4 separate regions of the Homo sapiens genome follow, and all the other regions are linked to region 1. Evidence: promoter capture Hi-C in 16 types of primary human blood cells and fetal thymus (Javierre and others, 2016). All regions are on one chromosome and are shown on one strand. The core of a region is centred on a gene start or on the middle of the fragment in contact, and the rest is flanking DNA. Distances in the headings are between cores, read along the strand shown. Region 1 holds the start of PNPLA4 (patatin like domain 4, phospholipase and triacylglycerol lipase). Region 2 overlaps NLGN4X (neuroligin 4 X-linked). Region 3 overlaps NLGN4X (neuroligin 4 X-linked). Region 4 overlaps NLGN4X (neuroligin 4 X-linked).

Region 1 (4,854 bases), core at 589-3,088:
AAATAACTTGCTCTGTAAACAGCATCCCAGATTCTGGTTCTGTAAATCCAGTCTCTCCTTAAACTTCTGATGCCACCACATCACTTTAAACCAGACCACCTGTCTTAATCCATTCAGGCTGCTATAATAAAGTAGCATTGACTGAGTGTTTATAAAAGAAATTTATTTCTCACAGTTCTGGAAGATGGAAGTCTGAGATCAAGGTGCCAAGATGGTCAGGTTCTGAGGAGGGCCCTTTTCCAGTTTGCAGATTGCCATCTTCTCCGTGTACTTTTATCCTTACATGGTGGAAAGAGACCTCTCTGGGGTCCCTTTTCTAAGAGTACTAATCCCATTCATGAGGGCTTCACCCTCATGACTTAATTACCTCCCAAAGGCCCCACCTCCTAATACTATCACCTTGGGGGTTAGTATTTCAATATGTGAATTTTGGAGGTATACATGCAAACAATAACACCACCAAAGGAGTTAGACCACTGCTTCAGGATTCTGTTAAAACGCAGATGCCGACTCAGATCAGAGATGGGACCTGGGATCCTTCCTTTCTCATGAGCTTCCTGGAAGATGCAGTTCTGGGGAGGATCACACTCGACCTTAAAGAGCTAGAAGATTGTGGAAGGTTTAAGGACTGGAGTGTGTCCTGTATTTTCCTAATGTACGTTGTGCCTTCCCTTCACTAAATTCCGGTAGAGGTAAAGAATTCTGAGTAATGCAGTCATTCTACGATAAGGCAATAAGGTGTTTCAGGATCAATTTTCTCTAAAGAATAGTTATGTGAATTAAAAACATCTTCCCTAATCGTCACATCAAGGACTCACAGGTGTTGTTGGCCAGAGACGATACACCAAAACAGAAAGAAAAAGCCCAAACCAGAGGCAATTTGGAGAGCTCCACCCCTCCTCCCTGTTTTGTCTAAGGTAGAGACATTCTCGCAGACGCTCCTTTGTAGCCTCAGAGAAAGTAAATCTCTGCCCTTAAACTAGGGGACCTGGAGAGCCTTCAATCACGAAGTCAGGGATTCCTCCAGGCTTGGTTATTAGGATTAGATAAGGAAAACACCGTTTGGGGAGAGAAAGAATTATCAGAGTCCTTTAAATCTTGGTGGGCATGGCAGGCATCTTGGCGGTCGTTGAAGCTGCTTAAGTCTGAGCCAAAGGTGCCAGAGGACAAAACAGCCACCTGCTCACGGCCCCCTATGTGGAAAAAGCTTTCCAATTTAGCTCTCTCATTTTAGCATCTCAATCTGCACATAAGGCACGCGGGAAACTCAGAGAGGTTATGCTACCTGCTCAAGGTCACACAGCCTAAGGTCAACTGAGGATATGAAAGTTCCCCAGAGTCATAGTCCAGCTTTTCCTTTAGATAGCACTTCTTAAAAAAACCAAAGGCACGCCTTGAAAAGCTGCGGGATGTCCAGCCCCAAAATAGCCGCTGGAGTTGGCCCCTAGGGGCAGCTGGACCGCCCAGGCGGGCGAAAGGGTGGAGAGGGAGAAGAACCACTTCCGGGAAACAGACGCGAAGAGGGTAAGGCACTTCCGGGGCACAGAAAATGAGGATTATTAAAGGTCAGTTGCTCGCAGGTAAGGGCCAAGTAGCGTTAAAAGACACGTAAGGATTACAACGCCTCTCTAGGGTGTGGGTTAAAATGTCTCTCTAGGTACTCGAAGATAACATGACTCTAAACGAGGAATCCTTGCCTGCGCTGGAGGACGCTCCGGTCTAGCGGCCAGGTTGAGTCCAGAAGTTTAAATAGAGCAGGCGGGGCCTAGCGGGCGCCTTCGTCGGCGCGATGACGTCACATACCTGCGCGGGAGGCGGTACCAACCCCTGCCGCAGGACTTTCCTGGGCCGGCTCGCGGAGAGCGTAGCGCGGCCTTGGTGGCGGAATGGCGTTGAGTGACGGCCCGGCCCCGCCATCTGGTTAAAGGGACTCGTTCAACACGGAAGTGTCCCGGGGCTGCATTGGTACGGAGCCCTGGGGCCCAGCAAGGGTGTGCTCCTGCGGGACTGATGCGGGGACCACCCCGGCCCTGCCGGCCTCCAAGCCGCGGGAGGGCACTGAGCCTGTGCTGGCTGGGCCTGGCCGCCTGGTTGCTACACACCCAACCCCCTTCCCGTCCCCATTTGCAGAAGTGGAATCAAAACTGGGGCTTGACCCCGGATCGATGACTGGGACTCAGCCTACGCGGACGCCAGCGCAGCCTGCGGCGGCCGAGCCACCTGCCCTCACAGGGCCTGGCCGGGTGCATCAGGAACAGGCGGTCTTAGGTCCCTAAATTCGAGGCCCTGTAATGTGCCTCATCTTGGGGTCCCTGAATGGGGCCCTTGGGCCCCCAAGGAAACCCTGAGACCTTCAGAATGGACAGCCTTGTGGAGGCACAATTTCATTCACTTGGGCAAATTGTGCGCACTGAGGCATAGGAAAACATGTAATTTTGTATTTAGATGTGTTCCAAGTATAAAGTGGCGTGGCTGACATTTCATAGAGCCTTAAATTGCCTTCACCAGGCATGACCTCAGTTTGTGTTGAGATACTTGGCAAAGAAATGTATTGCATTGTTGAGTGATTGCTTATTGCGTTACTGAGTAATTGTATTGGCGTTCATAAAAGCATGGGTGCTCACAATAGAAATTGGGAAGGGGAGTAGGGAACTGTATTTGAAATCTTCTGATACACTTACCAAGAACAAATGTATTGTTCATTTGGAATTTGATACGGTCTCTAATAATTTTCTGTTTCATAATGGTAGTGCCGCCCCCACCCGCAAAACGTTTCAAAGGGTCAAGAGAAAAGACCAAATGCCCTTGTCAACTGGAATTTATACGTCTGTTTCCTGCCAAGTAATTAAATCGTAGATTCATAATCTATGTACCGAATAAATGTGGAATGTTTTTGTTTTGTTTTGTTTTAATGTATAAGACTTGGGTCAAGGTGAGGAGGGAAAGAAAGGGTTTCCTTGAAAGATTCTTGTGTTTAATTAGAATTAATTGAAACCACTGTGCTTAAAACAGAGAATGATGTTAGAAGAAAGCCTTGGAACGATGATCAACATAAGACTACACAGTATGTGGGATAAACTATTCCAACTTACAGCATTTTTGTTTTTTGTATTGCCAGTGCTACAGCTAGAATGAAGCACATCAACCTATCATTTGCAGCGTGTGGATTTCTGGGCATTTACCACTTGGGGGCAGCATCTGCACTTTGCAGACATGGCAAAAAACTTGTGAAGGATGTCAAAGCCTTCGCTGGGGCGTCTGCGGGATCGTTGGTTGCTTCTGTTCTGCTAACAGCACCAGAAAAAATAGAGGTAATTAAGTAGTAACTTAGGCTGTGTTCCTCATCAAGAAATTAAGACCCAAAGGCAAACACCAGCATTGACTCTACTAAGTTAACACTGCAGAGAAATAATCGTTTGCTTGGAAACAGAAAGGATTAGGACTTTTCTCTTAAGATGTAATTATTAGGGATCTGTGCTCTGGTTGTGGAAAAGATTATTTTGGGTGATAGTGAAATAAGGAAATAAAATGACTTATATTACTCTTGAGTTTTTATTTATCCTTAAGATTCCAGCTCTGTTCCTTTCAAGCAAAGGATATTTCTTCTTTCTATGATCATGAGAAGAGCATGGGGCCTGTTTTCAAGGCCTTGAACATGTGGGCAACAAGTCTTACCTCACTGCTACTTAGAAATAGATACATAAATTAAAATGTGGGCATGCAGTTTCTATTAAGTGGAATGGTATAGGAATTTAATTCTTTTTTAATTCTCACAGTAAGAGGAAGCTCTGAGTTCCAAGCAATTTATCCAGAAGTAATACAAATAATTATTCATTAAGTACTTTATTTAATGCAATCTATGTTTTAAAATCTGTTTTCTGCTATCCAGACAGTGATCAATCATTTGCTGACTGTGAGAGCTGGATTCCGTAGTTGGAGAATATTATATTTGTTAATCATTACGTACTCTAGCAGCTTTGAACAATAATGAAATAACAATTTAACACCCTCATACCCAAGAATGAATTTCAGTCACATTTAAAATTCCAAAACTATGCAATGTTAAACATCAGAATCTCATTTCAGATCTTTTGTGAGCTGCTTATCAAAGGGAAGCTAGATTTGAGGCCAATCATTCAGAAATCCACCTATCTTCCTGTCTTTATATGGTTGATTTACAGGGAACTAGAAAAGTGATTTAAAAACTGCAGAGATTAAACAGGACCAGAACCTTAAGCCATGCAAGGTATAAATGAGGTCGGAAAATTCCCCCTAAACTAGCAGATTCATAAGCTTTGAATTACAAGCTACCTCCTTCCCATAACTGTGTTTCGTTTTTGAAGCAGAGGGCTTTCAGGGTGTCACTTCTTCCTTTTTACTGCAGTCTTTTCTTGAGCTGTGGCAAATCCTAAGCTTTGGAGTTATGTAGACTTGGTTTCCAATTATCAGCAAATTAAAAAATGTATTGTATGATTTAGAATTAACCTGATTTGGAAATACTGCACTAGTACAGCCATTTATACTTAACTAAAATTCTGCCATGTTAAGACATTGAATAATTTACCTGAATTGGAGACTTGATGTCATCATATTCTCAGATCAGTTTACCTGTTGTTATTTATTTTTTGCACTAAATGAGAGACTGGGTTGTGTTGTCTGATGGTGCTGGTATGATGAAAAGGTGTGTGTCTTTATCTGGTGCTCCCATGGGAAGGTAGAAAATAATTTTCTTAGTTTCCTTAGGGCATCCTCATTTGTTCTTCTTCAAAATAATTTTTCAGCCAAAGTAACCCTTTGACTTAAGGTTATTTTAGTTCCTTTATTTTTAGCATCTGAAATAATCCACTTGTAGGA
Region 2 (4,523 bases), core at 1,293-3,792, 1.9 Mb after region 1:
ATTTACTAGGCAACCGCTGGTAATGGTAAAAGAAATGAGGCCAAAAACAGCAAATTAGGAACCAGAAAGAAGCAGTGGATCATGAGAAAAGCCATTTCTTATTCATATAGCAGAAGACATTTCCCGTAGTGTATGATGAATAAATGATTAATAGAAGATTTTTACTTCATATTTGAATTTTATATGAGAAAACAAAAGACACTTTTCTGCCGTGGATTAAATATCTGCAAATAAATACTTGGGTAACTTGACACTCTTTTGTGTGCTTTACTGTGACCAATGGGTATGTCGTGTCTTCTGTATGCACCCAGTAAAATTGTGATCATAATTCATTCAAATTGGAGCCACCATCCAAACGATGGTAATTCATATCCTCAGAATTCCTTTGTGGTATTTCAAAAGTGTCCCTGTGGATTATGAGGAAAAAAAAACTTTATTGATGAAGAAATTGAAAATAAATATGCATAAATACTTGAGTTTTCTTTTAGTTACAAAGATATTTAAATTGTACACACACACACACACACACACACACACATATCTGTATCCAGAAATATTTATACGTGAGGTCAGTCTTCCAAAGATTAAATGCAGCCCTAATGGCTGATTAATGTTATAAAACAGGTCTTTTTCACAAAGCAGGCCCTACAGATGGTCTCCAACTTTCTATCATCACAGATCATTGTTTTTACATCATTGTTAATTTAAATAATAAAGTAAATTACCAAGAGGAATCATTGGTTGCAAGTCACAATGGGAGTTTATATTCCCTGTGAAAATATAAAGCATTTAAATAGTTTGGATTCTTTTGCCATTTTTTATTACATCTCTTTTATTTTTGTCACCTAAGTATGTTAGTATGTTACTGTAATCACTGGAACAAAGACATTTGCTTGGACATCTTTTCTTTTTTTTCCCTATTTCTGTTCAGTTAATAATTTTTAACTGTTGATTTTGCTTTCTTGTCATTATCTGTCCCTTATTGATAGTTTATAGCTTCACTACTACTTTTATGTTTTTATTGTTAAATTGAAGATGAATCTGTACACTCACCTGCGAATTAAGATGCAACTATATTAAAATTAATTATAATTTTGAAGTTGATTTTATACTTAATTAGAAGATAAAATATATTTCATCAAGGGTCCCATGTGTTTATTCAATTTAAATCACATTTTAGGGTTTGAGCAAAATTTAGGAAATGTGTACTTTACCTAAAACCATTTCTTTTAGTGCTTTAGATATATATAGAAGCTTAGATGAGCAGAGTACGCTAAATGTCTGTATGCTTCTTAAAATACCATTTCCATAAATAGAAAACGTAATAGCATTGATCATTTTCCTTAGACACTCTTATCAAGGGTCATATCATCCATAAAAATAAATGTGCTTAATTCAAGTCAAAATAGGGAAATCAGTGAATCTCCTTTTTTCTTAATTTAGCATTGGTGAGTCAGTGTGATTCTTTATTGTGTTTCCTTACTTGGCTTTTTTTTCCAGATATTCATGATCAGAACAGTAAGAAGCCCGTCATGGTCTATATCCATGGGGGATCTTACATGGAGGGCACCGGCAACATGATTGACGGCAGCATTTTGGCAAGCTACGGAAACGTCATCGTGATCACCATTAACTACCGTCTGGGAATACTAGGTAAGTGATTTCATCATGTGAATGACTGAGCAAGAGGAAACATGAAAAGTCCACTTCTCGTTTTGACGGGGCTCGTGGATTTGAATCCTGTTATTCCAGTTCCTGGTTAATTCCACTTCACGGTATTTACTTTATGTGATTGGATATGTTTATTCCTTTTACTACCTTTGTGCAACATGGTCATGAATCCCTTCTCAAACCAATGCAGACTTTAAGATCTTAAAGATGAAATGAAATTTTATTTATAGCATGTTTCTCCCTTGGAGTTCAATGAATGTATGTTTGTCTACATAGACCTGTACAATGAACACATATTTGGTGATATTATAGTTGGGAATGGCCATAGATCTTAGCTTTCTTTTCTGATTGTGTCATTGTATGAATCAGTATATTGTGTGGAGGAAAAGATTTTATCCAATTCTCTAACTGATTATGTTGAGCCTTTGGAAGATCTGTTGTTTTGGTTCCATTGCATTTGCATGCAGGGAAACTTAGCTGTTAGTTGACTTTTGTCCATTGATGATCTACGATTAAAGGCTAAATACATGGAAATTCAAGTTTAGTTCCTCCTTGTTTTGATGTTTCATTTCTTTTCTTTCTTTCTTTTTTTTTTTTTTCTTTGAGATGGAATCTCACTCTGTCGCCCAGGCTGGAGTGCAGTGGTGCGATCTTGGCTCACTACAACCTCTGCCTCCCGGGTTCAAGTGATTCTTCTGCCTCAGCCTCCCAAGTAGCTGGGACTACAGGCGCATGCCACCACACTCAGCTAATTTTTGTGTTTTTAATAGAGACAGGGTTTCACCATATTGACCAGGCTGGTCTCGAACTCCTGACCTCGTGATCCGCCTGCCTCGGCCTTCCAAAGTGCTGGGATTACAGGTGTGAGCCACTACGCCCGGCCATCATTCATCTTCTTCTAATTGTAGGTTGGAAAATTATACATCTTCAGAGTCAGATTTCAGTACCTTCTGAGATGGCCTTTCCTGGTGTTGGTTAGTTTGTGAATAATATTCCTAAGACCTATGTAAAAACATTTGTTTTCCAGGCAAAAATGCATTAAAATGGTATAGAAGATAAAGTTTTTAACAAGTTAGCCATGAGAGAGATGTGTATATTGGTTCCAGTGTGATTATGATACAATATGAAATACAAAACAAAATGAAGGCCAGGTGTGGTGGCTCTCGCCTATAATCCCAGCACTTTGGGAGGCCCAGGCAGGCAGATCACTTGAGGTCAGGAATTAGAAAACAGCCTGACCAAAGTGGTGAAACCCTGTCTCTACTAAAAATACAAAAATTAACTGGGCCTGATGGCAGGCGCCTGTAATCCCAGCTACTCAGGAGGCTGAGGCGGGAGAATCTCTGGAACCCAGTAGGTCGAGGTTGCAATGAGCAGAGATAGCGCCATTGCACTCCAGCCTGGGTGACCGAGTGAGACTTTTCTCAAAAAAAAAAAAATAATAATAATACTAGTAATAAATTAATTAAAATAAAAAGCAAAATAAGATGGACTAAAGGAGGTCTGTCAAACAAGAAATATGACTGAAAATGTTTTCTTCAAATATGGCCAAGAATATTTTCTTTTCAATCAGATGACTTCATTTCATTTTGAGTGGGTTTTTTTTTTTCCTATGTGAAAACATTAACCTGTAAGAAGCCCTAAAAGGTGGTGAATTGCTGAGAAACCCTAAGAGGTGTTGTAAGAAACCCTAAGAGAAATGCATTTCTTACTTTGAAATGCAAATCAGTCACAGGTGTTGCTAAAGTTGTATCTTTTGAAACATTGATAAAGAACTCAAAATTCCAGGTTGGTTTCTGCATTAAAGAAAATAAACACCACCAAAAAACCTTTTAGTGTCAAAAAACTTATTATGTCGTTGGCTTTATTTCCTATATTTTTTGTAGTTTTCTGTGAGCCACATCTTGGCGGAATAATGTCTCTGAACTTTTGCATAGCAGTAATTGCACGCTTCACTGAATAGTTTTCAGAGGCGCTGGATAGTTGCTTTGGCTACTAGTGTTGGAAACAGGAAATTGTGCTTCTTGATGTTTTACAAAAGGTTCATTCTGACAAAGAGGTGGAAGGAGGAAAGTATGTGTGAGGGCATTGCACAGGCCCTCTTCAAAGGGAGCAGTGTGTGCACTGCCTGTAGCACGGCCACACGGAAGAAAGCTTGGGCATGCTTTTCTGAGGGAAGCAGTGGGCATCAAGAAAATTCTTGCTTTGCTGGAACCACACAATATTCTGTTGCATGCGTGATGAATTGATGTGTCTGATAAGATAGAGTTTCAAAATAAATTGATCTCCTTTTCCCCCTAAAGCTCAGTTGTATCAAGCAACTCTACACTATGATTTTTTTTTTATCAGTTTTGTCCCTTCGTGAATCAATTGCACATCTTGCAAATTAGCCTGGAAAGTATACACACTTTTTTTAGAGGAAAAAAAAACTAATTGAAAAATTGTTAAGTCTACTTTTTGTTATGGAGAGTTTTTAAAAGTCATAAGATAACAGAGAGCTGTAAAATTGGTGGGGAAGAAATAAAAGAAGCGATTTAGCATCTCTATGCCGGTCTATTTACATTCCTCCAATGAGCTAGTGTGGAACAGCCAAGCACACTACAGACCCCCTTTCATTTGATGGAATGAAATGTGCCAAGTTTGCCGATTTTACAGGACGATAGAGACTTTAAAATGTGACTGCGTTGGTTTTTATCATGGATCTTGCATTTACTATTGTCCTCTTGAAAACAGCTAGGCGGCATTTACTTTTTGCTTGCAGGAAACTCCTATTATCGGTCTTGAAAAAATGTTTTTAAACCTTTGGCATCCAGATATTTAAAAAGATGATCAAATAAAATACACAGCAGGCA
Region 3 (4,614 bases), core at 571-3,070, 1.9 Mb after region 1:
TGTCTTTTCCCTCTGTGATTAAATCTGATTACAAATGCTCATTAATGCTCTGCCTTGGAATTGCAATTTGGGCATGTGCCATGTGAAAATGGAGGTTCCTAAAAATTAAAATCAAAGATTAATGCAGGTTTTAAAAAAGGGTCTTATTCAAATATATCTCAAGTTTTAAAACGACTCATGGACTTTTAATGAAATCAATGGCCTTGTAATGCCTCATTTTTTTTTTCAAACTCAACTGTTTCATAGCCTTCTCTTTAGAACATATCTGATTTACCAGAACCCAAGATTTGTGAGATGGTGTTATTTTTTATCTTTACTTTTTCCTCACCCCACGGTACCATGAAGAGATCGTGTAACATCCTTTCCTGGTTTTAAAGACAGGTGAGTAACGATTACATAACGTTCAAACAAGTCAGGTGTTCTCCAGAAGATGGTGTTAATGGTGTCTGATTCACAGATGCTGCCTTGACCCCTGGCGGTGGTAGGACCTATATTCTGGTGAAAGCCAATTTTAGGCCATGGATTATAGGACCTAGATGGAGAAAAACGATACCTAAACCTCATGAGATCTTAATTCACTGATCGGTGGAGAGATATTTTTCTTTCAGATGGTATCATCTTATTGCATCTCCAGCAGAGTGTTTGGCCGGTGAAAATAAAAATGGCCATTATAAAGAAGTTCTTTAGACTTTTAAAAATTTTACTAGGATCATGCCAGAAATTCCTGCTGTAGAAGTAGATATGTATGTGTGTATACATATATATATATATATATATATTTCTGAATTTGAGATGTTGGGTATTGGTAGAGATTCATTCATTTGAATGGAAATACGCTTGCTTTACTTTTGGCCAGCATGAATGCTCTCATTTGCCACAGGTTGGCAAGCTTATTGGTTTAAATATAAAGGATCTTGTGGGTAAGACTAACAGCAGGTTTTCATAGTGCCAACATTTCTTTCTTTTTTATTATCATATTTAGGAAAGTCTCTTGACTCTGAGATACTTTATATTGTGAAATAATAGTTCTGGTGCAAGTATAGATTAATAGATTATTAAACACTTTAAGATATGGATGGAAGAGTACAACTAGGATATTATTAATGAGTCCCATTTACTATTCTTTAATTTGCAGTGGAATTTTCATTTAACTTTTGAATATACCAATGATAGGAAGTTAGTAGTGTTTGCCTGTAATTTATCCTGAGCTCATTTATTTGAAGTTCAAATTTGAAAGCTTCCTTTTGTTGTTTGGTAAATAGAGATTATTGTGATTCAAAATGAGTAATCCCTAAATTGATGTAGAAAAAGATATTTGAGGCTGGGCACAGTGACTCACGCCTGTTATCCCAGCACGTTGGGAGGCTATGGGAGGTGGATCACTTGACCAGGAGTTTGAGACCAGCCTGGCCAACATGGCAATACCCCGTCTCTACTATGAATACAAAAATTAGCTGGGCATGGTCTCACAAACATGTAATCCCAGCTACTTGGGAGGCTGAGACCCAAGAATCGCTGGAGCCTGGGAGGCGGAGGTTGTAATGAGCTGAGATTGTACCACTGCACTCCACCCTGGGCGACAGAGCAAGACTTCGTCTAAAATAATAATAATAATAATAATAATAATAATAAAATAAAAAGAACTTTGAGATATTCATATTGTCCAAAAAGTATAATTCAAATACTTAATGCAGAAGGCAGTAGGATCACTAAACTACAGACTCATTCATCAATTATAACAGATGGAAGGGTCTTTGTTAGAGTCCTGGAGGCTGATTGAGCATTTTAAATGGCAGGTTCATAGGGGAGATCCAGGAGGTCTAAAGGTGAGGGTCTACAAGCAGGAAGCACCCCCACTCCCACCCCCAAATTCATGACAACAACACTAACTAGGCAGCAAAGGGATATTTCCTGATGTCAGCAGTCAGCAGAATGGTACTGAAGGTTGCTAGATAAATGCAAGTTTTGTAGTCACTCACCTGCAAGTTATAGGCAAGATATTTATCTGTACTCCTACAGGAAATTAGCCCTAATTGACTGCTCTTAATCAGAACAAGACATTCTAACCTCTTATTCATGGTTAGCAGTATATCCCACTTGCTTCACTTTGTGATTCTCCATCACATTGGAATAACTGGACGTGGGATACATTTGGAATTGAGTCTCAAATTCAAATCGCCATAGAACCTGAAAAGAAAATGTAAGAAGAGACAAAACAGAAGAAAAATGCAGGATAGAGAGTTATGATTTAGATGTGTTCATTCTGTGAACAGAGAGCAGATTCTCTTGGATCTGGCTGAAACAGGGGCCCCCTGTGTTGTGAAAGTGGTGTATGTCTTCATACGTGTTCCCACGGGCCTGGACAACCAACCACATTTGAAAAATGAAGAAATGAAAGCTTGTGGTCAGGGTCACAAAACTTGACAGTGGCAGAAGTGGATCCAATTTCCAGTCAAATCTATGACTCGTTCCATCTTGGCCACAATTATACTGCAACTCAATTGCTTTTCTTCCAGTCAGTACCCACCCACCGAAATGTCAGCTCTTCAAGGGCATTAATTGTTGTTTGTTTCATTCATTGTTGAGTCTTAGGAGCCTGGGACAGTACATTGAAAATCTCAATTGTTGACATTCTCAATAATACACAAGAAATCATGTTTTCAGATCATGGAAATCATATCCATTAGGATGGCTGTTAATAAAGTAAACGTAAAATAAGAAGTTGTAATGGAGATGTGGAGAAACTGGAACTCTTTCACATTGCTGGTGGGAATGTAAGATGGTACAGTCATTGTGGAAAACTCTTTGGCTGTTCCTCAAAAAAGTAAACATGGAACTACCATATGTGATCCAACAATTCTACCTCCGGGTATATACTCCAATTCTACCTCTGGGTATATACTCAAAAGAATTGAAAGCAGGAATTCCAGGAGATATTTGTATACGCAGTCCTTAACCATGTTATTCACAATAGCTAAAAACTGAACTTTTGAACTAGCCAACTATCCATTGATGGATGAATGGATAAACAAGTGATATATATGTATATATTTATGCGTGTACACACACACACACACACTGCTGAAATGGAATATTATTCAGCCCTTAAAAGAAAGGAAATTCTGATACATGCTACAACATAAATAAACCTTGAGGACATCATTCTAAGAGAAATAAGCTACATGCTAGTCACAAAAGGACAAAAGCTGTATGATTTTACCAATATGAGGTACGTAGAGTTGTCAAATTCACAGAGGCAAAAAGTTGAATGGTGTTTGTGTGCGGCTGAGAGGCGGAGAGAATGGAAAATTATTTCCTAATGGATAGAGTTTCAGTTTGGAAAGGTACAAAATGTTCTGAAGATAGATGGTGGGGACAGTTGGACAATAATGTGACTGTTCTTAAGGCCACTCAATTATACACCAAAAAATAGTTTAAATGATCAATTTCATATTCTCTATATCACAGTAAAATAAAACATTATGGTATCTGTGATTTAATTGACTATTTGTAATCATCACCATGTTAGAGCATGTTCAGTATCTCATATCCTGCAATATTGGAATGGACATGGTAATTTTTGAGTGGTAGAAAATAAAGTAACTTTTAAAAACCCATCTCTATGTATTCACATAATCTTACATTTCATATAAGTGAAATCATACACTCTATATCTCATTTCTTTCTCCTAATAAAATGTTTACAAGGTTTACAAGGTTCATCCACATTGTAGCATGTATCAATCAGTACCGCATGCTGGTTTATGGCTGGATACTATTCCATTGTATGATAGACCGCATTCTGTTATGTTTATCTATTTTTCATTTGATGGATATTTGGATTCAATTCATAGAGACAGAAAGTAGATTAGTGGTTGCTGGTGCTTGGAAGAGGACTATAGGGAATTAGCGTGTCATGGTTACAGAGTTTCAGTTTGCGAACATGAAAAATTTCTAGAGATAGATTCACAAAAATGCAAATATACTAAATGACATTGAACAGAACAGTACACTTTAAAATGGTTCACTTTATGTTACGTGAATTTCCTCTTAAATAGAAGAAAAATAAAGTCTGAAGTTGTCATATCCTTCACTGGGATGCTCTCTTTAAAAGTGTAGAAAGGTCCTGAAAGGAGCATATAAACAAACTAAACAACAATCAAACAAAACATGTCATCGTACCCCACAGCATCCTGACATGGAAGACTAAAAACTGTCCCAGGGCTCTCTTCTTCCTTATCTGTTACTTTCAGGGGCATTTTAGCTTAGGATTTAATTTGACTATTGACAACCCCAGTGTCTCCATTTGATCTCAGAGCAAACTTGAATTGATAATTAAATTTCCATGCTTTTGACCAGGGAAAGACTTTAGGAAATGTCTTTGAAACTGTGAACTTGCAGAAAGGAGAAAATTTTATATGTATCTAGCTTCTATCCATTCCATTTGTCATATGGTCAGAACTTACATGATGCAAGCAGGCCATTTACAGGGCCCTGGGCTGACAGCTACATGCTATATTTTGTATTTGCTTCCACTATTTTGTTAGCAAATGTATGTACTTACTAACAAAATACGTGTTTTAAGAAATAAAATTATTTTAAGAACAAAATAATA
Region 4 (4,826 bases), core at 668-3,167, 1.7 Mb after region 1:
AAAGATGAGAGTGTTGACTGACTCCGCAACAGAGACTTGCTTTTGGAAGTGCAGGGGTCTCTTTAAAAGCCATTTGGAATACTGTGCTTTTATTTCTAGACCACAACCAAAAGGTTCTCAAAAAACTAAACATTCAAGTGCACGAGGGAATGACCTCCGTTTAACATTCTTTCTTTTTAATTGGTACGCCACATTTCAAACCTTTTGTAATACTGTTGAATATTGCCAATAATGCAACTTGTTGAGCGAATGCATTGCATTCAAATGAAGTAGCAATATACAAATATTTTAAGTCCTTTAGTATCCTCCTTCTAAAGATAGGCTTATCTGGTTAAAATATACTTATATTCCAAATAAGGTGAGAGTTGGTCTTAAGATGTGAATGTCAAGTGTAAGAGACACGATTTTAGTTTGTAAACCAGAATGTATTCTTTCTGTACTGCTTTCTGCCTTTTAACAATATGTATTCTATTCCCAAATGGGGAAATATGTTCAGTTTAGTTTAAATCTGTTGCTCTTTTTGTGTGTGTTTTTGTCTGAGTACTGTACTTTTTCAGAGGAGAGACTTCGTCTCCTATTTAATTATGTGAATGGATATTCAGACAGATTTGAATAGCCACCACTGATTTCTTAAACTCCTGAGCTACCAGTTTTAAATCAAAGATACATCTTTTGCACAGTCAATTAGAGGAAGTGAGAATCAAAATTGAAGCCCAGGCTGCTGAGGCAATTAGGTCATCTGCTGTGCTCTCTACTACCATTCACTCAACGAATATTTTCCAGTTCTGTCATTTTTCTCTAAACAACCTACATTTGGACTTTGAAAGGCTCCACTGTTCTTTGTTAAGTGAACGGCAGTGTAGGAAGCCCTTCCTCATTTTTCTTGGAGCACAGTAGCACACATGAACAAGAAAAAAAAGAAGGTGATAGCTCCTAGCAGTTTGTCATTGTGCCATTTATAGGCTTTGAATAAATGTATAGATGAAAAGGCTTTCCCTCTGCAGGTGGTTACATTAAACAAAAAATAAGTAAATAAAAGCCTCATAAAATCATTACGGGAGTGGAAGGTTGGTGGTGGAAAACAGCCCATCTACCTCGGGCTGAGATTTCAAACTTTAGACATCTCGTGTTCAGTTCACGTGTCCCAGGTGTGTGCGGAACACCTCCATACACCACATCTTCCCAAGGCACTCTCATCTTCCCAGAAATGGTACCTGAAGGAGAACAGACCTAACCCCAACAATACTAAAATACGTATATAAAAAACTATATATAGTAAGATATGTATCCTACTATATAATATATATATGGTAATACATATTATAGTAAGGTCTGCATCATGTATATAAAAATACACTATATATCTTATTATTATATATATAGTGAGATGAGGTGTATTAATCCATTCTCAGGCTGCTAAAAAAGACATACCCAAGACTGGGTAATTTGTAAAGGAAAGAGGTTTAAATGACTCACAGTTCAGCATGGCTGGAGAGGCCTCAGGAAACTTACAATCATGGTGGAAGGGGAAGCAAATACTTCCTTCTTCACATGATGGCAGGAAGGAGAGGAATGAGAACCGAGTGAAGGGGGAAACCCCTTATAAAATCAACAGATCTTGTGAGAACTTACTCACTATCATAAGAATAGCATGGGGCAAACTGCCCCCATGATTCAATTACTTCCCACCACATCCCTCCACGACACGTGGGGATTATGGGAGCTACAATCCAAGATGAGGTTTGGTGGGGACAAAGCCAAACCATATCATGAGGTTTTATTGAATTTATTTGAGACAGGAAAAGAGTAATCCTCCATAATTTAGAAAGGAGATGAAGTACAATGAACATTTAGGTCCTCATTAGTTGAGGAATACATTTCAAAGAGAGAAATGTTAATTTCAGTATAGTGCTAATGAAACGATCTAGGCTTTCACTGCTCTCTGGAAATGTGGATAAATGGCCCAGAATTTTGTTTGGGTTGTTTTATTTAAAATGTATATTATATAAAGAAATCATGGTTTGTCAAAGTAACAGAGTGCTATTTTTGGCTTACAACAGGACTTTCTTAGCTCCACCTGTTAATATCGGTGATCATTTTGGTTTTAAGAGGCTGGTACCTGATTGGATGATGAAAACTTGGATCTCAAAGCCATCACCCCAGACATGTGATTTTATTAACATCTGTGGGCATCTGTCCGGCTCCCACATCAACCCTTCATCCAGGCTCATTTTCTGTTTGTTTTTGTTTGGTTGTTTGTATGCTTTGGTTGGGGAGAGGGGACACGGATTTTGCTAAGGGCACCTTTTTCAGGAGTGAAACTTAGCCTGTCATATAAGCTGAAAAGGAACTTGGGTTGTTTCAAGTTGCATTACTTGGTAAGTTTTTGGATCCTTTAAAAAAGAAAGGACTGAGGTTACTAAAAGTGTTATTGGCACTGATAAAAGAGCTATGGTGAATTGTGGTTTGTTTTTGTAAAGTGCAGAAAAGGCCTCTTTGGTTCTGTGATGATGGCTGTGGTGAAGTTGCATGCGGTGCCATTTTCCATGTTTAGTATTTCAACACCACCAATATGTGGCTCTGGAGTATGGGACGGGCAAGTCCAAGAACTCAGTGAGGCATGCCGTGTGACTCCAATGGTCAGAGCTGTTCAGCATGGAACTGTGGTCTCAAAAGCATGGGGGATGGGGGCAGAAGAAGCTCGCTGCAACTGAGTGCCTTTAACTTATTCCACTCTTCAGTACTCTCTGTGACTATAACTCTGTGAATGGGTTAGGTGGGGAAACTCACAAAAGTAAATGCATGTTTTCACAAACAAAATATGTCATTGTTAACTGTTTTCCTAAGTGAGACAATATGCCCTCATGCCCTGAAGCTACATGGTAAGAATGGCAGTGTGTATGAGCGGGTGTATACACATACATGTATGCATATGCTAACACATTAACTAGGAACTAGTCTTTGCTGAAAATGTTTTTCTCAGCCATTGCAACACATTAGATAAAAGCAAATATATATATATATATATATATATATATATATATATATAATATAAGAAGGAAAAATGTGGTTTTCCATTATTTTCTTTTTCTTATCCTCATCATTCACCAAATCTATATTAAACAACTCATAACATCTGGCCTGGGTAATAGAGTGAGACCCCAACTCCACAAAGAAACAAAAATTAAAAACAAATTAGCCGGGCCTGATGGCAAGTACCTGTGGTTCCAGCTGAGGTGGGAGGATCACTTGAGCCCAGGAGTTCAGGGCTGCAGTGAGCTATGATTACGCCAGTGTACTCCAGCCTGGGAGACAGAGCAAGACCCTATCTCTAAAAATATAAATAAATAAATAAATAAATAATAAATAAAAATAGAAAATGTACAATGAAAGTTATAAAGTTGGCCAGGCGTGGTGGCTCACGCCTGTAATCCCAGCACTTTGGGAGGCTGAGGTGGGCGAATCACCTGAGGTCAGTAGTTCAAGACTAGCCTGGCCAACATGGCGAAATCCTGTCTCTACTAAAAATACAAAAACTAGCTGGGTGTGGTGGTGTGTGCCTGTAATCCCAGCTATACAGGAGGCTGAGGCCGGAGAATTGCTTGAACCTGGGAGGGGGAGGTTGCAGTGAGCCAAGATCGTGCCATTGCACTGTAGCTTGGGTGACAGAGCGAGACTCTGTCTCAAAAAAAAAAAAAAAAAAAAAGAAAGTTATAAAGTTACCTATGATGGGTCTGGATGTACTCCTTATTTAGGAGTGAAGACATTCGTTAACATGAGACCTAAGTAAGTAGAAAGTATGTGTTTAAGGGACAGGTGTCCATTTTCTCTAGGTCTCCTGGAAGCTTTTTTTTTCTAATTTGAGTACTAGTTCCAAAAAAGGTGTTACCGCCTATGTTTATAGTGAAACTATCTATGTGTGACAAAATTCTACCCTCTCTTGTCCATCAATATTGTGCAATGTTGTGTACTTGTATGGAGAAATAGACAACTTTTACAAAGATCAAACTAGGCACCCTTTACCAACGCTAAACTCATAACCCTTTTATCTGCCTTTGTAGAAGATTCTCACCTTTATTTCTCTTGGTCCCTCTGAGAAATATTTTCCTCTGAGACAATGCAATCTATGCCTCATCTTTAAGCAATCCTAGCTCACCAGTATGAGTAATGTTGTCTATTTTTAAGGTTATCTCATTATTCTAAAAGACTTTAAATTGTTGAAAAATAAATTGTGTGAGGGGTGGTAGAGTTTGAAACAATTATCTGTGATGTTACCAGATATTTTAGACTAAAATATATTAGAATCCAAGGTATTGTTCATGCCTTAAAAATGCTGAAATATCTGACTGTTGCTTATTAATTTTAAAAAGAATATAGGAAATAGCCATTAATTAATGAGGCTGTTTCCACTACCACATAAAAAAAAAAAAAGCTCACAGGTGCCTGTATGTTTTTGTCGAATCAAAGTAATCTGCTTTATGTATGCATTTATTCATAGAATTTACTAAAATCAAAATCAAGGTTTTATAAATATAGGGTTTGACAAAGTTTTAAAATATAACCAGCTATACAAATATGGCATGTGGGAAATTCTATTAAATTGTCATGAACATGCTTCTTTGTCATTCCAGGAGTCTTTCTTTTCATTACTCTTTCCTATTTGATCTGTTATTCTATAGAATTATCTTCATTTTCTCTTTAATACTTTAAGGATCCCTGAGACCTTGTCACTCATCCAAATAGAATAAAGGAATGAGGGAAGAAAGAAGGAAGGGAAGAAGGAAGGAAGAAAGGACGGAAGGAAGAAGGAAGGGATGGAGGAACGA

The links. The method cuts DNA at HindIII sites, captures the fragments that hold promoters and counts their contacts. A CHiCAGO score of 5 or more calls a contact.
Region 2: a contact is called between a fragment that was not itself captured here and the fragment with the promoter of PNPLA4 in region 1, in 6 of 17 cell types (naive B cells, fetal thymus, endothelial precursors and 3 more). The highest score is 12.9, in naive B cells.
Region 3: a fragment that was not itself captured here is called in contact with the fragment with the promoter of PNPLA4 in region 1 in 2 of 17 cell types (naive B cells and total B cells); the score reaches 7.4 in naive B cells.
Region 4: a fragment that was not itself captured here is called in contact with the fragment with the promoter of PNPLA4 in region 1 in 1 of 17 cell types (fetal thymus); the score reaches 11.9 in fetal thymus.

The regions. Positions count from the first base shown.
Region 1 is chrX:7,924,397-7,929,250 of GRCh38, reverse strand. It overlaps PNPLA4 (patatin like domain 4, phospholipase and triacylglycerol lipase), which reads left to right and starts at 1,838. Exons shown (of 7, transcript NM_004650.3): 1 at 1,838-1,965; 2 at 3,119-3,311. The coding sequence starts at 3,132. It overlaps LOC107985675 (a long non-coding RNA gene), which reads right to left and starts at 1,751. Exons shown (of 5, transcript XR_001755784.2): 1 at 1-1,751. RefSeq lists enhancers at 1,231-1,310, 1,651-1,700, 1,721-1,960, 2,191-2,420, 3,083-3,132 and a silencer at 3,109-3,403. The HindIII fragment of the contact is 3,086 bases long and covers 1,210-4,295 here.
Region 2 is chrX:6,026,410-6,030,932 of GRCh38, reverse strand. It overlaps NLGN4X (neuroligin 4 X-linked), which reads left to right. Exons shown (of 6, transcript NM_181332.3): 3 at 1,501-1,653. Among named protein-coding and RNA genes, the nearest start is that of NLGN4X, 200 kb to the left of the region's middle. RefSeq lists an enhancer at 3,312-3,885. The HindIII fragment of the contact is 2,571 bases long and covers 1,257-3,827 here.
Region 3 is chrX:6,007,532-6,012,145 of GRCh38, reverse strand. All of the region lies in intron 3 of NLGN4X (neuroligin 4 X-linked), which reads left to right. Among named protein-coding and RNA genes, the nearest start is that of NLGN4X, 220 kb to the left of the region's middle. The HindIII fragment of the contact is 1,161 bases long and covers 1,240-2,400 here.
Region 4 is chrX:6,219,615-6,224,440 of GRCh38, reverse strand. The region is part of intron 1 of NLGN4X (neuroligin 4 X-linked); the gene reads left to right. Among named protein-coding and RNA genes, the nearest start is that of NLGN4X, 6.8 kb to the left of the region's middle. The HindIII fragment of the contact is 3,861 bases long and covers 1-3,847 here.